2 separate regions of the Homo sapiens genome follow, and region 1 is linked to region 2. Evidence: promoter capture Hi-C in 16 types of primary human blood cells and fetal thymus (Javierre and others, 2016). All regions are on one chromosome and are shown on one strand. Each heading gives the region's core, a stretch centred on a gene start or on the middle of the fragment in contact. The rest is flanking DNA. Distances are from core to core; before and after follow the strand shown. Region 1 holds the start of LZTS3 (leucine zipper tumor suppressor family member 3). Region 2 has its middle 11 kb from the start of OXT.

What was found. The method cuts DNA at HindIII sites, captures the fragments that hold promoters and counts their contacts. A CHiCAGO score of 5 or more calls a contact.
Region 1: the fragment with the promoter of LZTS3 here is called in contact with a fragment that was not itself captured in region 2 in 2 of 17 cell types (naive CD4 T cells and naive CD8 T cells); the score reaches 6.0 in naive CD4 T cells.

What each region holds. Positions count from the first base shown.
Region 1 is chr20:3,170,395-3,174,979 of GRCh38, forward strand. It overlaps LZTS3 (leucine zipper tumor suppressor family member 3), which reads right to left and starts at 3,155. Exons shown (of 5, transcript NM_001365618.1): 1 at 3,061-3,155. It overlaps LOC107985414 (a long non-coding RNA gene), which reads left to right and starts at 3,296. Exons shown (of 2, transcript XR_001754477.2): 1 at 3,296-3,796. RefSeq lists a silencer at 3,039-3,378. The HindIII fragment of the contact is 3,672 bases long and covers 1,081-4,585 here.
Region 2 is chr20:3,058,627-3,063,207 of GRCh38, forward strand. No RefSeq gene overlaps it. Among named protein-coding and RNA genes, the nearest start is that of OXT, 11 kb to the right of the region's middle. RefSeq lists enhancers at 489-990, 991-1,490. The HindIII fragment of the contact is 3,419 bases long and covers 1-3,302 here.

The DNA of each region.
Region 1 (4,585 bases), core at 1,905-4,404, 110 kb after region 2:
GGGAGAATCACTGGAACCCGGGAGGCAGAAGTTGCAGTAAGCCGAGATCATGCCACTGCACTCCAGCCTGGAAGACAGAGCGAGACTACATCAAAAAAAAAAAAAAAAAAAACAGGTTGGCGCGGTGGCTTACGCTTGTAATCCTAGCACTTAGGGAGGTCCAAGACAGGTGGATCCCCTAAGATCAGGAGTTCGAGACCAGCCTGACCAACAGGGCGAAACCCTGCCTCTACTAAAAATACAAAAAAATTAGCTGGGTGTGGTGGTGCATGCCTGTAATCCCAGCTACTCAGGAGGCTGAGGCGGGAGAATGGCTTGAACCCAGGAGGTGGAGGTTGCAGTGAGCCAAGATCGCACCACTGCACTCCAGCATAGGTGACAGAGCAAGACTCCCTCTCAAACAAATAAACAAAACAGAACAAAAAAAGTGGTACAAAACAAAGGCAGTCCACAAGGCTAGAGGAGTGCAGAGAAAGACATGGCAGAGTTCCTGCTAAAAGAGAAGACAGTTATTTAAGGAGGTTTGAGATTCAAGGGCTTTTTTAATTTTAAAATTAACCATGGTAGAAACCTGTGTGTTAATATGCTGAGGGAAGTTGCCAATAGTGAGATGAAAGATCTAGGCAAGGGGATAGCAAGGTGACTGCACCAGATACCTGGATCTGGGCAGGAATAAACCTCAACAGTGATCATGTTGACCTTGAGTGACAGGGTATAATGTTTGGGAAGGTGCTTTGTAAACTATAAGGGGCAATACAAACATGTAGTACACCTTCTCTGAGATCCGGGAAAGGACAACCTGAGCATAGGTTGGGGCTGGTCATAGGCCACTCTCCCCTACTGTTTCTCTAGAGTGTGTGTAGTCCCTAGCAAGTCTCAGATGCCTCGAGTCGTGGATGGAAACAAGGTCCCAGGACCATTGTCCTGAGCCTCCTTTCTCCGTGCTCTACCTGGGGAATGCTTGACTATCAACCCACAGAAGCTCTCTCTGGAGCCTCACTGCCTAAAGAGCTTCTTGTCGTAATTGTAACCTGTCATGGTTAACCCCTTGCAAGCATGCCCTGCCCCTTGTCTCTCCCAAGCTTTGGCTGCTGCAGCTTCTTTCCACAAAATCCCAGCAGATAGCCGGGCGTCGTGGTGCGTGTCTGTAATCCCAGCTACTCGGGAGGCTGAGGCATGAGAATCGCTTGAACCCAGGAGGTGGAGGTTGCAGTGATATTGCGCCACTGCACTCCAGCAGCCTGGGCAACGGAGTGAGATACCCCCTCAAAAAAAAAAAAAAAAAAATCCCAGCAGGACACCGGCAGGACAAGGAAGGGGATGTTTCCCTGGTAAGCAGGAACTGAACTGAGAGGAAAGGTCACGGTCCTGAACTAGTCCAGGTAACTGAGCATGGTCTGCAAAGGCAGCCTCCTGGCATCAGTGCACCACCCTGAGATGACAGCCTGTTGCCTGACTGCCTCGATCTCTGTCACCTCAGCCCTCAGTGCCTGGGGCATTATACACAGTATTAGCGTCATGAGGGGGCCAAACGGACTCTACCTGACAGTTACATGTACAGGTACCTCCAACCCACCCCTCAACCTGTGTCTCTCCCAAAGCTAGGAACACTTGGGGTCTCAGAGGCCCCAACCCCAGCCCATTCTATCTCCTAAAAATCTCTAGCCAGCCCCTCCATCCAGCACCCCTGCTGGGGGCTCCTCAATGGACTTTCTTCTCCTGCACTCCCTCCCCCAGGCAGCTGCCAGGGGATTCCTTCTAAAGGGCAAAGCTGATCTTGCCCCTGCTCTGTCCAAATCCTTCCATGAGCAAGACCAAGTGCAGTAGACAGAGTTCTGGCAGCATCAGCTCCAAGTGTAAATCCCAGCTTGACTGATTAGGGGTGCAACCTCATGCAGGTTATTTCACCTCGGGTTCTCACACCTACATTGCAGGCATTTTAAGAAGTAAATGTATGATGGGTGAAATGCCTGGTATTCCTCTTGGTCCCCAGAACCAGAGCAGAGCTTGCAGCAGGGTCCCCAAGGACTCTCCTGATGCCCCTCCTCTATCTACCCTGACCTGAGCCCCTCTCTACTTCACACACAAGCTCTTGCCAGCTCTCTGTGCCCATCCTACATGCTTCTAGACCAGTTCAAAGGCTGGCCTCAGGACAGCATCCCTGATCTCCACCCCCCAGAGGGGGCATCTTGGAGCACTTGGCTGAGGACACCCCAGGGAGATTTCACTCTGAGGCCTCCCCAGGGCTGGCCTATAGGTTTCCCAGGAGCACAGAGGGCAGAGTCCTGGGGGTCTCTGGGCCCTGCACCAAGGAAATGCAGGGCAAATGCCTGTGGGAATGCTAGTTATGGGCAATGCAAAGAGGCAGTGAATCCGGGCAGGGAGAGCAGGAGGGGTTTCCAGGAAGCAGGACTGAGGGAGGAAAGGGATCTGGGGGCACTGCAGGGCTTTTGGGGTGCAGAGATATCCAGAACTTCTTGGTTGGGATGAGTGAGGGGAGATCCGTCTTCCCTCGGTGGCCTAAGCACTGGCAGCGGAATGGGCCCATCACCTAGCTACTGGCTCTGATGAAGCCAGTGTTTCAGGACTGAGGGGGCCGAGAGCGCCCCCTCCACCCCGAGCACACACACGCGCGCACACACGAGCTTCTGCTGGGGGTGGGAGGGGGGGTCGCCATTCACCAGCAGCCCACGGCCCGCAGAGCCAACTGATAGAGACCCCAGCCACAGGCCACAGGACCTGGGAGTCCCTGCGATGGGGGAAACCCCGCCCGCACCTCCCCAGGCTCCCCACCAACGCGTGTGGCCCCGGGGGGCGGGGCGCAGAGGGAAGAGGTGACATAATCCGAGCCGCACCCCCTCTGGCCGCCACCTCCCCCCAGGCCGGGCGAAGCATCCATGACATCATCCGCCTCCTCTCCGCTCCCCTCCCCCTTGGGACCCTAGCAGCGGGACGCGCCCCCTACCCAGTCCGGGTCAGGTCAGACATGCCGCGCAGTGCAGCAGGCACGGCGGCAGGTCGGAGCCGGGAGGGATGCCACGATGGGCCTGCCTCACTTACTCGCTGCCTCAGGGTCCGGCGCGGGGTCTCCGACACGGGCGCCACCGGCCCCGCTTGCTGGCGCAGCCCGAAGCACGCCCGGCGGGGCGCGCTGCGCGGGCCCGGCTCCGCTCCGCGCCCCTCCTGCTCCCCGCCCGAGCCCCGCCCACCAGCGGCTGCGGCAAACGCGAGCCCGCCCTCCGGCCACGCCCCCCAGGGCAGCCAATGCCCGGGCTGGGGCGGGGTGAGGCGCCTTAACCCCTTCGTCGCTGCGCCCCGCCCGCGCGTGGGACCCCTCAGCCTCACCCTCTCTAGGGCGCAGCAAGTCCGCCGCGAGCCCCTCTGCTCATCGCTCGTTACCCCCCAGGCCCTTGGGCTTGGGCTCAGGCCCAGTCGTTCCTCTGCAACAAATCCAATGGAACCGCGCCCTCCCTGAATCCCACGTCTAGGAAGAGGAGGAGGAGCCCCTCTTGCTTGGGGGAAGGGGCTCCCGACTCGGAGCCCCGAGCCCCATTCCTCTCCCGCGCCAGCTCTTCGGGACGCGGCCTCCCAGCGGACGCCCTGAGACCTTGCAAGTCCGCTAGGGAGGGGTCGGGACGAGCCGTCGCGGGTGGATCCGCCCGGCCGAGCAACGACCCGCCCGGGCGCGAGGACCACGGGCTGTCGTGCGGGAGGCGTCGAGGGGCAGTAAACTCCGTTCGTGACCAAACGGAGACGATTTGAAACTTGCTGCTCACACTGGATCACCGTCTGGAAGGTGCGACGGGGAAAAAATACACATTACACTCCAGCAGGATTGAACGCTTTCACCCTGTGCCCCGCGCCTGGCGTAACGCGTGGCCCCAGACCACACGCTGTAACCCGGGGTGAGAGGGAGTGAGGTGGGACTTCGTACCGGACCCGGAGCGCCGGCCTCGCCCGCGCGGGCAGCGTTCACTGTGGGGAGTGCTCACTCAGCCTAGGGCGGCCCGGGAGGACTGCCGGGAGGAGGGAGTCGGCCTTGAATTGAGGCCTCAGCCTTGAATAGGGTAGGGAGGCAAGCCTAGCCGAGAGTTTAGCACTAGCAAAAGCCTGGAGGCACCAGGGTCTGCCCTAAGAACTGCAGCGCCTCTGCTCTGGCTGGGATTTAACGCATTACGTCTCTGCTGTTTATAGGTGTTGTGTTTGGTCTTACGACTTCGTATTCTATAGTTTTTATTTATTCCTGTTTTCTGAATTTTCCCACATTTGCTTTTATCTTCTATCGTGATTTTCAAGGCAGAAAGTATTTTTAATTCTTCTCGCGGCTGCCTTTAGATTTATCAAATGAAAATAGTTTACATTTCACACATTAGTAAAGTCAGTGACAAATAATTCGTTTTTATATTCCCCCATGAGAAATTTTGTGTGCTTTTCTGCCTCCTACCTGCCGCCCTCACTACTTATATTTGTCCACTTAATCAGGACGACAGACCTAACTTTTGTTTACACTTTTTTTTTAAGCCACAACATTCTTTTTCAATCCTTGTTTTTGGCTTTTGCCAACTCTGTTTAATTGGTTTCAATG
Region 2 (4,581 bases), core at 343-2,842:
TGGAGTGCAGTGGAGTGATCTCGGCTCACTGCAACCTCCGCCTCCCAGGCTCAAGCAATTCTCCTGCCTCAGCCTCCTGAGTAGATGGAACTACAGGTGTGCACCACCACACCTGGCTAATTTTTGTATTTTTAGTAGAGAGGGGTTTCACCATGTTGGCCAGGCTAGTCTCGAACTCCTGACCTCAGGTGATCCTCCCACCTCGGCCTCCCAAAGTGCTGGGATTACAAGTGTGAGAAAATATATACTTTTTTTGTTTGTTTGTTTGTTTGAGACAGAGTTTTGCTCTTGTCACCCAGACTGGAGTGCAGTGACATGATCTCGGCTCACTGCAACCTCCATCTCCTAGGTTCAAGCAATTCTCCTGCCTCAGCCTCCCAAGTAGCTGGGATTACAGACGCCCACCACCATGCCCAGCTAATTTTTGTATTTTTAGTGGAGGGTTTCAACATGTTGGCCAGGCTAGTCTTGAACTCCTGGCCTCAAGTGATCCGCCCACCTTGGCCTCTCAAAGTGCTGGGATTACAGGCGTGGGCCACCGTGCCCGGCTGAGTATACTCTATTTTTATTTGTCAATTATACCTCAATAAAGCTGGGGGAAAAAAACTGAAAAAATACTGGTCATGAATTATTTTTCTTTGGTGGGGCTACCATTCTCTCCCACTCCACTGGCTGTGTGGAAATAGCCCACACATCGGTTGCAGGTGCAGAGGACATCTGAGGACAGGCTCGCCCTGCCCACCACCATTGCCACTGGTGCCCGAGCATGCCTTCCAGGGCCTGGGGATCAATCCATCCTATCTGCCACTGCCAGTGCCCATGCACACCATCTGGGGGGCTGAAAACAGGCCTGCCCTGCCCTTCACCACCACCATTGCTGCCAGCACCTGTGCACATCATCCAGGGGCCTGAGATTCAATCTGCCCAGCCCACCACCATCACCACCCGTGTGCACCATCCAGGGGCCTAAGGGTCCCACCCTACCTACTGATGTCAATGCTAGTACCCATGCATGTCATCCAGGGGTCTGGGGGTTGACCTGCACTGTCAGCACACATGCACGCCTTCCAGGGACCTGAGGATGGGCTCACCCCACCTACTGCTGCCGTCCATGTGTACTGTCCAGAGACCTAGGGATTGATCCACCCACTTCACTGCCACTGGTGTGCATGCCACACATGCACACTGTCCAGGAGCCCAAGGACAGGTCCACCTTGCCTACCACTGATTCCTGTGTGCATCTCCCAGAGGCCCAGGCACTGGCCCACCCAGCCTGCTGCTGCCAGTCAGTACCAGCACGCCACCCAGGGGCCTGGGGACTGGCCCAAACAGATTGCTGTTACCACCACCCTGTCCAAAAAAAAAAAAGACCCAATTGTATGCTGCCTATCAGAAATTCACTTCACCCGTAAAGACACACATAGACTGAAAATGAATAGATGAAAAAAAAATTCCATGCAATTCCATAAAATTGGGGAAAAAATGACTGTTATAAGTGACTGATATCCTGCATGCTTTTATTTATTTATTTATTTATTTTTTGAGACGGAGTTTCGTTCTTGTTGCCCAAGCTGGAGTGCAATGGTGCGATCTTGGCTTACTGCAACCTCTGCCTCCTGGGATTACAGGCACCCGCCACCACACCCAGCTAATTTTTGTATTTTTAGTAGAGACGGGGTTTCACCATGTTGGCCAGGCTGTACTTGAACTCCTGACCTCAGGTGATCTGCCTGCCTCTGCCTCCCAAAGTGCTGGGATTACAGGTGTGAGCCACCACACCGGCCTTGCATGCTTTCAGTTTCCAATCATTTGGAAGCCAAAATTATTGGAACAGTCATTAATAGCCTACTATATAACAACAAATGCCTACATCAAAAAAAGTAGGAAGACTTCAAGTAAACAACCTCATGATGCTCCTCAAGGAGCTAGAAAAGCAAGAATAAACCAAACCCAAAGGAAAGAAACATAAAGATCAGAGCAGAACTAAACAGAATAGAGACTAAAAAAGGGAAACAAAGGGTCAATGAAATAAAAACTTGTTTTTTAAAAAATATAAACAAAATCCACAAACCTGTGCTTGGTGTGTGAGAAAAAAAAAAAAAAAATCAATAAGCCACTACCAGGACTAACCTAGAAAAAAAGAGAGAAGACCCAAATAAAATTAGAAATGAGAAAGGAGACATACAACTGATATCACAGAAATACAAGGGATCATTAGAAACTATTATGAACAACTATACACTAACAAATTGGAAACCCTAGAGGATATCTATGAATTCCTGGACACAAACAACCTACCAAGATTGAACCAGGAAAAAAATAGAAAACCTGAAGAGATCAATGATGAGTAACCACATTGAATCAATAATTAAAAGTCTCTCAACAGAGAAAAGCTCAGGACCAGATGGCTTTACTGTGGAATTCTACCAATTTATAAAGAACTAACACCCATTCTTCTCAAACTATTCCTAAAAATTGAAGAGAATTTTTTTCTAACTCATTCTATGAGGCCAGCGTTACCCAGACACCAAAACCAGACTAGGACACACACAACAACAAAAGAAAACTACAGGCCAATATACCTGATAAACATAGATGCAAAAATCCTCAACAAAATACAGTTGATCCTTGAAGAATGTGGAGGCTATGGATGCCAAAACCCTGCACACTAGAAAATTCACATATAACGTTTGACCCCCCCAAAACTTAATTACTAATAATTAAGTGAAAGGCCTTTACAATGAAAACTATAAGACACTGATAAAAAAAAATTGAAGTCCGGGCGCCGTGGCTCACACCTGTAATCCCAGCACTTTGGGAGGCTGAGGCGGGTGGATCACAAGGTCAGAAGTTCGAGACCAGCCTGGCCAAGATGGTGAAACCCCATCTCTACTAAAATAAATAAAAAATTAGCCGGGCGTGGTGGCAGGCGCCTGTAGTCCCAGCTACTCCGGAGGCTGAGGCAGGAGAATTCCTTGAACCTGGGAGGCGGAGGTTGCAGTGAGCCGAGATCGTGCCACTGCACTCTAGCCTGGGCGACAGAGCAAGACTCCATCTCAAAAAAAAAAAAAAAAAGAAAAAAAATTGAAAAGGATACAAACAAATGGAAAGGCATCCCATGCTCATGGATTGGAAGAGTATTGTTAAATGACTGTACTACTCAAAGCAATCCACAGATTCAGTGCAATCCCTATCAAAATACCAATGACATTCTTCACAGAAATAGAAAAAACAATCTGAAAATTTGTATGGAACCACAAAAGATACTTAATAGCCAAAGCAATAATGAGCAAAAAGAACAAAGCTTAGAGGTACCACACCACCTGACTTCAAAATTTACTACAAAGGTGTAGTAATCAAAACAGCAGGCTATTGGTATAAAAATAGACACAGACCAATAGAACAGACTGGAGAATCCAGAAATAAATCCATGTGTTTACAGTCAACTGATTTTTGACAAAGGCATCATGAACAAACACTGGGGAAAGAACATCCTCTTTAATAAATGATGCTGGGAAAACAGGATATCCATAGGTAGAAGAATAAAACTAGACCCCTATCTCTCACAATGTACAAAACTCAACTCAAAATGGCTTAAAGACAAACATAAGACCTGAAACTATAAATCTACTAGAAGAAAACATAGGGAAAACACTTCAGGACGTTGGTCCAGGTAAAGATTTTATGGCTAAGACTTCAAAAGCACAGTCAACAACAACAACAACAACAAAATAGACAAATGGGAATACAGTCAACTAAAAAGCTTCTGAACAGCAAAGGAAGCAATCAACAGAAACAACCTGTAGAACAGGAGGAAATCTTTACAAACCATTCATCTGACAAGGGGCTAATATTCAGAATATACAAGGAATTCAAACAACTCAGCAGCAAAAACATAAACAATCCCAGTAAAAAGTGGGCAAAGGGCTGGGCGCGGTGGCTCACGCCTGTAATCCCAGCACTTTGGGAGGCCGAGGTGGGCGGATCATAAGGTCAGGAATTTGAGACCAGCCTGGCCAATAGGGTGAAACCCCGTCTCTACTAAAAATACAAAAAATTAGCCGGGCCTGGTGGTGTGCGCTTGTAATCCCAGCTACTCGGGAGGCTGAGGCAGGAGAATTGCTTGAACCTGGGAGGCAGAGGTTGCAGTGAGCCAAGATCATGCCTTTGCACTCCAGCCTGGGTGACAAAGCGAGACTGTCTCAAAAAAAAAAAAAAAAAAAAAAAAGTGGCCAAAGGATCTGAATAGATATCTCAAAAGAAGACACGCATGCTTGAGCCTAGAAGTTGGAGGTTATAGTGAGCTATGATCGTGCCACTGTACTCCAGCCTGGGCAACAAAGTGAGACTCTGTCTCTAAAAAATAAAATAAAAGGCCGGGCACAGTGGCTCACACCTATAATCCCAGCACTTTGGGAGGCCAAGGCGGGCAGATCACAAGATCAGGAGATGGAGACCATCCTGGCTAACACGGTGAAACCCCATCTCTACTAAAAAATACAAAAAAAATTAGCCAGTCGTGGTGGCAGGCGTCTGTAGTCCCAGCTACTCAGGAGGCTGGGGCAGGAGAATGGCGTGAAC